2 separate regions of the Homo sapiens genome follow, and region 2 is linked to region 1. The links are contacts of gene promoters, found by promoter capture Hi-C in human tissues and cell types (Jung and others, 2019). All regions are on one chromosome and are shown on one strand. The core of a region is centred on a gene start or on the middle of the fragment in contact, and the rest is flanking DNA. Distances in the headings are between cores, read along the strand shown.

Region 1 (5,092 bases), core at 1,510-4,009:
TCACATAACATAAAATTAAGCATTTTAAAGTGAACAATTCAGTGGTATTTAGTATATTCACCATGTTGAGGCTGGGCGTGGTGGCTCACACCTGTAATCCCAGATTTTGGGAGGCTGAGGCGGGCAGATTACTTGAGGTCGGGAGCTCGAGACCAGCCTGGCCAACATGGCAAAAACCATCTCTACTAAGAATACAAAAATTAGCCGGCCACGGTGGTGCATGCCTGTAATTCCAGCTACTCAGGAGGCTGAGGCAGGAGAATCGCTTGAACCCGGGAGGTGGAGGTTGCAGTGAGCTGAGATCGCACCACTGCACTCCAGCCTGGGTGACAGAGTAAGACTCCGTCACAAGAAAAAAAAAAAAAAAGCCGGGCACAGTGGCTCACGCCTGTAGTCCCAGCACTTTAGGAGGCCGAGGCAGGCGGATCAACTGATCCAGGAACTCCTGAGGTCAGGAGTTCAAGACCAGCCTGGTCAACATGGTGAACTCCATCTCTACTAAAAATACAAAAGTTATCCAGGGGTGGTGGCACGCGCCTGTAATCCCAGCTACTCAGGAGGCTGAGGCAGGAGAATCACCTGAACCCCTGGGAGGTGGAGGTTGCAGTGAGCCAAGATTGCGCCACTGCACTCCAGTCTGGGAGACAGAGCCAGACTCTGTCTCAAAAAAAAAAAAAAAAAAAAAGTATATTCACCATGTTGAACAACCGTTACCTCTATCTAGTTCCAAAACATTTTCATCACTCCAAAAGCCCCTTACCCATTAAACAATTTCCCCACATTTTCCTCCACGTACTGTTTTTATTTGTATTTGCATATATATTTTGAGACAGGGTCTCACTCTGTCACCTAGGCTGGAGTGCAGTGGCATAATCATGGCTCAGGGCAGCCTCGACTGTCCAGGCTCAAGGGATCCTCCCGCCTCAGCCGCCTGAGTAGCTGGAACCACAGGCTCGTGCCACCACACCCGGCTAATTTTTAAAAAAGTTTTTTTGTAGAAATGGGGTCCCACTGTGTTGCACAGGCTGGTCTTTTTTTTTTTTTTTTTGAGACGGAGTCTTGCCCCGTAGTCCAGGCTGGAATTCAGTGGCATGATCTTGGCTCACTGCAACCTCTGCCTCCCAGGTTCAAGCAATTCTCTTGTCTCAGCCTCCCGAGTAGCTGGGACTACAGGCGCCTGCCACCACGCCCGGGTAATTTTTGTATTTTAGTAGAGACAGGGTTTGACCTTGTTGGTCAGGCTGGTCTGGAACTCCTGACCTCAGGTGATCCTCGGGTGATTCACCCGCCTCGGCCTCCCAAAGTGCTGGGATTACAGGCGTGAGCCACCGCGTCCGGCCGACCCAGGCTGGTCTTAAATCCCAAGGCTCAAGTGATCCTCTGGCCTCAGCCTCCCAAAGTGCTGGGATTACAGTTGTGAGCCATCCCGCCCCGACTCATGTACTGGTTTTGATTCTCACAATGACCTCATTGTACAATTGAGAAAAACGAGGCCGTGAGAAGTTCAGTGATAGATCCAAGGTCATGTAGTTAGTTGTGGAACAGTGATTTGGAAACTTTGCTTTCTGATCCTAATGATTAATGCACATCTTTGGGGGATCCTACAAGGAAGCAGCCAGATTTGGGTTCAGAGAGAGTAAATTTTTTTTGTTGAGGCAGGGAAATAGAAGCCATTAAGTCAGTTTTTAATTGTAAAAAGCGCACGTTGAGGTAAAACTGCAATTAGTCCTGTACGGGTGGTTGGCAGAGCCAAGAGTAACCTATGCCCAAGAGCAGCTACAAGGCAGGACTTGGATAGGTCAGCAGTGCAGGAAGCTTTGCCAACACCTCAAGAACAAGAAGTCTGTCATTCCTTGGGCAGCTCCTATACATGCCAAGCTGGAGCCAAAGAGAGGCAGGGGAGCCCGGAGGGCGTGGCTTGCCTTCCGGAAGTCAGGCCTCGTCAGGAATCACCAGGTGGTTGCTTGCGAGAGAAGCTGGGGGTGAAACCGGAGAAAACAAAGTAGGAAGCAGGTCTGGGCCAATTGCAGCCCACTCTGATGGGGGCCTGCAGGCCACCGGACGCCTGAATATCTGTCCAATCCCTCCTGGAAGGACTGCCATCTCTTTAGTCCCTCTTCCGCAGCATAGGGGTGCTCTCTCTGGGGCTCTCCTTTTCTCTCCTAAGGCCCACAGCCCCACAGTTCCCTATTTAGGTGTCTTAAATTGAGGACACACTTCTAAATTGTCCCTCAGAGTCTCGTCTCCTCCTTTGAGCGAGGCTGGGCGGGCTCCTCCTGCTCCGATTATGAGGAACTTCTTTCCCAAGCTCCCCACCTTCTTTGGGCTTGGACGGCTGCAGAGTTCCAGTTAACTGTGCGCCGCCTTCGTTCCAATTGTACCCCTCGTGCTCCCAGAGGGCAGCTCCATGGAAACCAAAACATCACAAATCCCCGAAGGTATCGCGAGAAGCGCAGATGCGCCTGAGGCCGTGGAGAGGCGGAGCGAGGGCGGGAACGCTGAGCAAGTAGGGCGGAGCCTAAGCTCTTCCGAGGTCCCGGCCGGGAGCCTGTCCCCTCCAGGTGGCGCCCCCGCGTGACTGCGCTTTACATAATCGCGGCCTGGAGCGTCACAGTGGCGTACTCCAGGCCAGACCGAATCAGAGTGGGCGAAAGCTCCGTGTTCCGCCCCTTCCCACTTGATCGACGTCAAAGCCCACCAGTGAGCGGGCGTCTAGAGTCGCCGTGCCCGCCCCAGCCCGCCCGGGTCCGCCCCGACCCGCCTGCGCCCGCCCGCCTGCCGCAGCCAGCAGCCTGCAGCCGCCGCCGGGTTGTGCCTCAGACTGTCAGATAAATCGGCGGGCCGGGCCGGCGGGTCGGTGAGCGCGGCCCGGGCCGGACATGGCGGCGCTCTACGCCTGCACCAAGTGCCACCAGCGCTTCCCCTTCGAGGCGCTGTCTCAGGGGCAGCAGCTGTGCAAGGTGCGCGGGCTGGGGCGGCGGCCGGGAACTGGGGACGCAGGAGGCGCGGCCCGGAGCTCCAGATTCTGTGGGGACGCCCGGCGGGGTCCCCGGAGCAGGGTGTGGCAGGCCCGCCAGGCTGAGGAGCCGCACCCACCCCGCTGGGGGCCGGCGGGGCACGTGCGGGAGCCGGGACCCGGTCCAGGCTCCCGCGGCCGGCGTGTCCGGGTGCTTAGCAACCGTGGGGATTGTTCTCGGACCCCGTGAGGTCGGGGGAGGGACAGCGGGTCCCCTGCTTGCCCTGACTGGTCGCCTTCGGGATCCCTTTGCGCTGCCTCCCCCGCCGCCGCGGTCTCCCTGGTGGGGACCTCCTGCCCCTCCTGGGACTGAACTCCAAAGTTGGGTGCTGCCTTGGAGGAATGTGTCGAACTCGGGCTCCTCACGGGCACTTTTCGACCAGTTTCAGAATCGGAGGTAGCAAGGCTTGATTTTTTTTTTTTTTTTAAGCATCTCACTTTTCGGCCAGTCTCAGAATCGGAGGCAGCAAGGCTTTATGTTTTAAAAAAGCCCCACAGTCAGGCTCACAGATCCGAGGGATCACTTCTCAGCATCCAGTTGGTGGTCTTCGGTCTTCCCTGACTAGCTGCTGATCAGTTTTTGCTCCTGAAGGTCCAACTTCTCTTTTTCTTTTAAGTTGCTTTATCCCACTTTTACTTTTTAAGTGACTAGAGGTGCTGTGAGGCAACAGTTAAAAAGTCACCAAACTGGCTGAAGAATAATGTTGAGGTTATCCAATAATCCAGTTTGTGTCTCTGATTTGGATAACTCATAATTGTCACTTTTGCCTCAGATGGTCATGACTTTCCATTTGCCAGTTTTTATATACCAGGTCTGGGGGAATGCAAGTGCTTGAGTGCCCTTTTTGGCCTCAAAATATGTATATATGATTTTAAGGAAGTTATGTATATATAAATAATAATTTTAATCCAGCACTTTCATTTCACAAGTAAACCGCAAAATCACACAGTGGCAGAAGAACCAGGCCTGGAATTCAGGGCTTCTGATTCCCAGTCTGGGACTTGTTCATATATATGTTTGTTTTACAATTTATGGCTAGTTCCATATAATCCATATAAGTTCTTACTTAACTCCCACATCAACAGTAGGGAAGTGATGCCAGTATTACAGAGGAGAAAAATAAGGCCCAGAAAGTTTAAGTGACTCACTCAAGCATAGTAGCTATGCTAGAAATAGTACCCAGGTCGGCTTCCTACTGAAGGCTGTTTCCATTTGTGACTGCCTTTTAAAATTATATCCTCATTTCATTTCAGGAATGTCGGATTGCACACCCTGTTGTGAAGTGCACCTACTGCAGGACTGAGTACCAGCAGGAGAGGTAGAGTTTTGTTGACCATGAAAGATATTAATAGGCTTTTTTCCTCTTAAAATCTGTAATTGATTGCATTTCATGTACAGATGCTATAATCAGTTGCATTGTAAAATACAGATCTGTAATCAATCACATTATATACAGACTATAATTGCTAAATATTTAGGTCTATGATCCATCTTGAGTTAATTCATGTGTGGGGTGAGATATACAATGAAGGGTATATAATACATGTATTGTTTCCTAGTTATTATCCATTGATTGCTTAAATTTTTTTTTTTTTTTTTTTTTTTTTGAGATGGAGTCTCACTCTGTCACCCAGGCTGGAATGAAGTGGTATGATCTCAGCTCACTGCAACCCTTCCCTCCCAGGTTCAAGCGATTCTTATGCCTCAGCCTCCCAAGTAGCTGAGATTACAGGTGCCTGCCACCATGTCCGGCTAGTTTTTTTGTATTTTTAGTAGACGGGGTTTCACCATCTTGGCCAGGTTGGTCTTGAACTCCTGACCTCGTGATCCACCCGCCTCAGCCTCACAAAGTGCTGGGATTACAGGCGTGAGCCACCACGCCCAGCCTGCTTAAATTTTTAAAGTTCTTTTTAAGACCCTTGATCATTTTATATTGTGATTATAATCTTTTTGTCAAGAAGAAACCAATCCCACAACAGTAAAACATGAGCCTCATGTTTCAATATGTACATACACAGAGATTGAAGAATTTATAAGCCCAAAGAAGATACTTTTGGAAATGTGACAATCCTGAT
Region 2 (5,092 bases), core at 689-3,188, 320 kb after region 1:
GGACTAAAGGTGTGCACCACCATTCCTGGATAATTGTTTTTGTGTTTTTTATAGAGACAGCATCTTGCTATGTCGCCCAGGCTGGTCTCAAACTACTGAACTCAAGCGATCTGCCCACCTGGACCTCCAAAAGTGGAGCCACCACACCTGGCCAGTTAAGTTCCTTTTTTTTTTTGAGACAGAGTCTTTGTCGCCCAGGCTGGAGTGCAGTGGCGCATTCTTGGCTCACTGTAACCTCCGCCTCGTGGGTTCAAGCCATTCTCCTGCCTCAGTCTCCCAAGTAGCTGGGATTATAGGCTCAAGTCACCACGCCGAGCTAATTTTTGTGTTTTTAGTAGAAACAAGGTTCCGCCATGTTGGTCTCTTATAAGGAAGAAACTAAAGTTCTTTTTAAGGGGTGATGGTGAAAAGATGACAGATGATTTAATTGATAGTTTAAGACATCATATGGCTAGCATGGCAGTTCTAGAATAAATGAGCCGGGATGATAGTGTGTGGAGGTAAAAGTGTAGGATTCTTGAAATTAATGTGGTAGAGGTGATGCAGTTACTGGCTCATATGGTTGGTGCACAAACGACAGAAGGTAAGAACTGTGGAAAACTGAAAACCATGGTATGAAGAAGCCAAACTGTGAGGTGCAAACAAGCTGCCTCTTTTCTCTTTTTTTTTTTTTTTTTGAGACAGAGTCTCGCTCTGTCGCCCAGGCTGGAGTGCAGTGGCGCGATCTCAGCTCACCGCAAGCTCCACCTCCCAGGTTCACACCATTCTCCTGCCTCAGCCTCCTGAGTAGCTGGGACCACAGGCGCCCGCCAACACGCCCGGTTAATAATTTTGTATTTTTAGTAGAGACGGGGTTTCACCGTGTTAGCCAGGATGGTCTCGATCTCCTGACCTCGTGATCTGCCCGCCTCAGCCTCCCAAAGTGCTGGGATTACAGGCGTGAGCGACCGTGCCAGGCGCAAGCTTCCTCTTTTCTATAAGAGGAGTGGGGTTAATGACTAAGTCATTTCATAACCATTTGGTAATTAATACCAAATCTCTTGGATTTTATTTATTTCGCTTATGCTTCCTATTCTGTATATTGTACGTCTGACTGAAGAATATGGTGCTTTTCATCTTTACCATTAAGTCTCCTCTATGTAGCACAGTGCCTGATATACAACATGAGTTTGGTACATATTGTTGAATAAATAATGAATGCATAAGAACAAATCAGTGCACAAGTTTCAGGAAAAAACTATTTGGAAAGGAAATTTTAATCTTAAACCAAATAATTTCAAAATGTAACAGCTGATGGTAAGAACCAAAAAGAGGGCAAAGCATGCCCATACGCTAATCAGCATGTGAAAAAAAAAAACAAAACTTATGAGTAGTTCATTAAAAAGAAAGCAAACTTTACATACCTTATAGTTTGCTCTCCTGATTCCTGCATCTTGGCTTTTTTCACCTGCAAAAATAAATATACAAAGGTATCAATGTACTTGATCTGTTTTTTAAATCATTTAGCTACTCAAACAACAGGCTATTAACTATTACAGGATAACTGTTTAATTTTGTTTAGTCTAGATTTAATTAACCCTTGTTATATTTTAGAGCTAGAAATGAAGTTTGTTTTTTAAATGGAGCTCTTCTTTTTAATGAAAAAAGTGTTCTTCTGATTAAAAAAAAACTGTTTACCAGAATTTTTACTCAAGGTAGACAGAATGTTTACTAGGATAAAGTATCCAAGCTTTGATACAAACTAGTTGGTTTTATACTGTAACAGGCAAATTATATTTAAACAAACAGTAAAGATGGGAATCTAAGTATCATCTACTCATTTATTTAACAAAAATGGCTTTATACTTAAGTTAGTTTAGTGTCAAAAATTAATATGAATTCTTATCAGGTTACCAGTAATTTAGAAAATATTGTTAACCCTGTATTTTTTCTTTTCATATTTCACATTTTCTATTTCCTTCTGGGGAGAAGGCACTTCCATTGAAACAGTGTAAGAATCCACAAATGAAAGATAATGGTTAATACTAATGGATTTTTCTGTTTTCATATTACAGAGAATCTGATTTTAGAACTCTCTGGTTAGAACTGGTTGTAGTAGAAACATGTCTAATATGCTTAGCCATTCAAATTATGAATATTTAAAAGTATTTCAAGCTAATAGAAGAAGGCAGAAACTCTCCTAGATAATTTGAAGCAAGCGTATCAGGTGGAATCATAGATATTTAATATTACATTGACTATTTCAGACAAGGTAAATAATACAGGCAAGCCCCATAAAATTTGTCGTGGCCATATACTCCTCATGAGAATACACAACCATGACCAGACATTCTTGGTTCCTTGCTTATGGCATGTCAAAATGTGTTCCATTCAATGTTCTCTTAATTTTCATAGTTACCAAAAAGGAGAAAATAAAGAAACAAAGGCAATTTAAAAAAACATTTCTAAATTTGAAACAAAAATTACATTAAAGCATTTGAAGCAAAAACAAAAAACGAAACCTTGAGGTGGGCAAATCCTGATTAAGCATGACATTAAATCCAAAAGCCATAAAGGAGAAAATAGATATGATTACACAAAAATTTTAAACTTCTATATGATAAAAGACACCATAAAACAACCAGGAGGTTGAGGGATTCCAGGATAGTATGCAGACTGTGACAAAAAAATCTAACTGTATTACCAATGTATACGACTATCTCACTGAAAGAGGTGAGGGAAATATGATCTGACCTAGATAATATAGGAAAACAGTGTTTTGCCTGGAAACTATAAGGCTAAAGACAAGAAAAATTCAACTATCTAGTTTATCTGCCTGCCATAATTTCACAAATGACAAAATATAGCCTTTTTTTATAAAATGTTCTGCCCTTCCTACCTAAAGATGATAGTAGTTACATATGGTCAGATAATAATATATTCTTCCAATAGTGGAGATGAATTTATGCTTAGCTCATCCAAAGACTCTTTGCTATCAAAGAAATGTAATTACGAGCTGGTTGGCTGAGTAACCAAAACAGTCTATACTCTTCAAACAGTAATTTAAACAAAGAAAATTAGAGCACTGAGGAGTCTAACTTATCATAGTCTTCATTTTATTAGAGGTATAGAGCAACAAATTTAGTTAATCAACTCCAAAAGAAAAAAGGATTTAAAAAAAAGGTCCTGGAGCAACATTTTTAAATTTACTTTTTATTTATTATTATTATTATTATTATTATTATTTTTTTTGAGACAGGGTCTTGTTCTGTCACCCAGGCTGGAGTGCCATGGCGTAATCTCGGCTCACTGAAACCTCTGTCTCCCGGGTTCAAGCAGTTCTTGTGCCTCAGCCTCTCGAGTAGCAGGGACCACAGGTGCACACCACCATGCCCAGCTAATTTTGCTATTTTTTCTATTTTTAGGAGAGACCGGGTTTCACCACATTGGCCAGGATGGTTTCGAACTCCTGGCCTCAAGTGATCCGTCCACCTTGGTCTCCCAAAGTGCTGGGATTACAGGCGTGAGCCACTGCGCCTGGCCAAAAATTTATTTACTTTCAAGGAAGAATTATGCTTCTTTACGCTCCTTCATTTTTAATTTATTACCGTGCCAACCCAGTGCAGAGTATATATTCATAAATAGAAAGGGAGAAAATGTATCTAAAGTCATATCTACCAAGCAGAAAAGTCTGGGGAAGGAAAGGGTGTTACAATGTTTTTTTTGTTTTGTTTTGTTTTTAACCTCATATGGCCCATTGTTTGTCTTGATTTGAGCAATTATGCCCCCCTCTAAGGCAGGGATAGGAAGCATGTACTAACTAGGCAGTAGAGGCAGGTAAATTAACTAAAGAAGACAGACAGATTTTACTCAATTATAGAAGTATCAGTTCAAACAATACAAGCTAGAAACTGACAGAAAATGATTCCTGGTTGTTAAGAGAAATAGCAAAGATTGAGCAACAATTTTCTGGAGAGTTTACAGAGTAACATAGTACTTGCAATAATGAATACTGAAAACTACACAGCAAAGTGAGCAAAGATTCAAGTAGCAACCAGTCCTACAGAGAACAATTTTCATTAACAAAACCAGTATAGATTATACAAGCAGCTGGTATCCAAGGAATTGGGGCCATACCAGGACAGTAGTAGGACAGTAATACAAGCTGCCAGGAAGTAAGAAAGCAATAAAGCTGAAAAAGCTCCGTTAGGGTTAAAAGTGAAAAAATCAGAATCTCTTTTTGCATGACATAATTTTGTATACAGAAATCCTAACGAATCCATTAAGAAACCACTAGAACTGATAAACAAGTTCAGCAAGGCAGCAAAATACAAGACAAACATACAAAAATCAATTATATTTCTATATACTTGCAGTGAACAATTCAAAAATGAAAAAAAAAATCCATTCACAATAGCATCAAAAGGAATAAAATACTTAGGAATATGGCCGGGTCCAGTGGCTCACGCTTCTAATCCCAGCACTTTGGGAGGCCAAGGCAGGTGGATCACCTGAGGTCAGGAGTCCGAGACCAGGCTGGCCAACATGGTGAAACCCCATCTCTACTAAAATACAAAAATTAGCTGTGTGTGGTGGTGCACGCCTATAATCTCAGCTACTCAGGAGGCTGAGGCAGGAGAATCGTCTGAACCTGGGAGGTGGAGGTCGCAGTAAGCTGAGATTGCACCACTGCACTCCAGCCTGGGTGACAAGGCAAGACTCTGTCTAAAACAAACAAACAAACAAAAAAACTTAGGAATAAACCTAACAGAAGAAGAAGTACAATACACGTTAAAAGAAATTTAAGAAGAGCTAAATAAATGCAAAGACACCCCATATCCAGGGAAAGAAGAATTCATCTTGTAAAGATGGTAATACTCCCCAAATTGGTCTACAGTCAATCCAATCAAAATCCCAGCTGGCTGCATTAAAGAAATTCACAAATTGATCTTAAATTTCATATGGAAATGAAAGTGACCCAGAATAGCTAAAACAATCTTGAAAAAAAAAAAAAAGAACAAAGTTAGAGGACTCACATTTTTCCATTTCTTTTTTATTTTTATTTTTTAAGACAGAGGCTCACTCTGTCACCCTGGCTGGAGTGCAGTGGTGC

What was found. Contacts are between HindIII fragments. The study calls those that stand out against the background at their distance.
Region 2: a contact is called between a fragment that was not itself captured here and the fragment with the promoter of FAM76A in region 1, in 1 of the 25 tissues and cell types used here (mesenchymal stem cells).

Annotation. Positions count from the first base shown.
Region 1 is chr1:27,723,202-27,728,293 of GRCh38, forward strand. FAM76A (family with sequence similarity 76 member A) reads left to right here and starts at 2,760. Exons shown (of 9, transcript NM_152660.3): 1 at 2,760-2,960; 2 at 4,271-4,335. The coding sequence starts at 2,880. RefSeq lists silencers at 2,104-2,746, 2,585-3,284. The HindIII fragment of the contact is 12,090 bases long and covers 1-5,092 here.
Region 2 is chr1:28,046,980-28,052,071 of GRCh38, forward strand. EYA3 (EYA transcriptional coactivator and phosphatase 3) reads right to left here. Exons shown (of 18, transcript NM_001990.4): 3 at 1,404-1,447. Among named protein-coding and RNA genes, the nearest start is that of EYA3, 39 kb to the right of the region's middle. The HindIII fragment of the contact is 5,379 bases long and covers 1-4,628 here.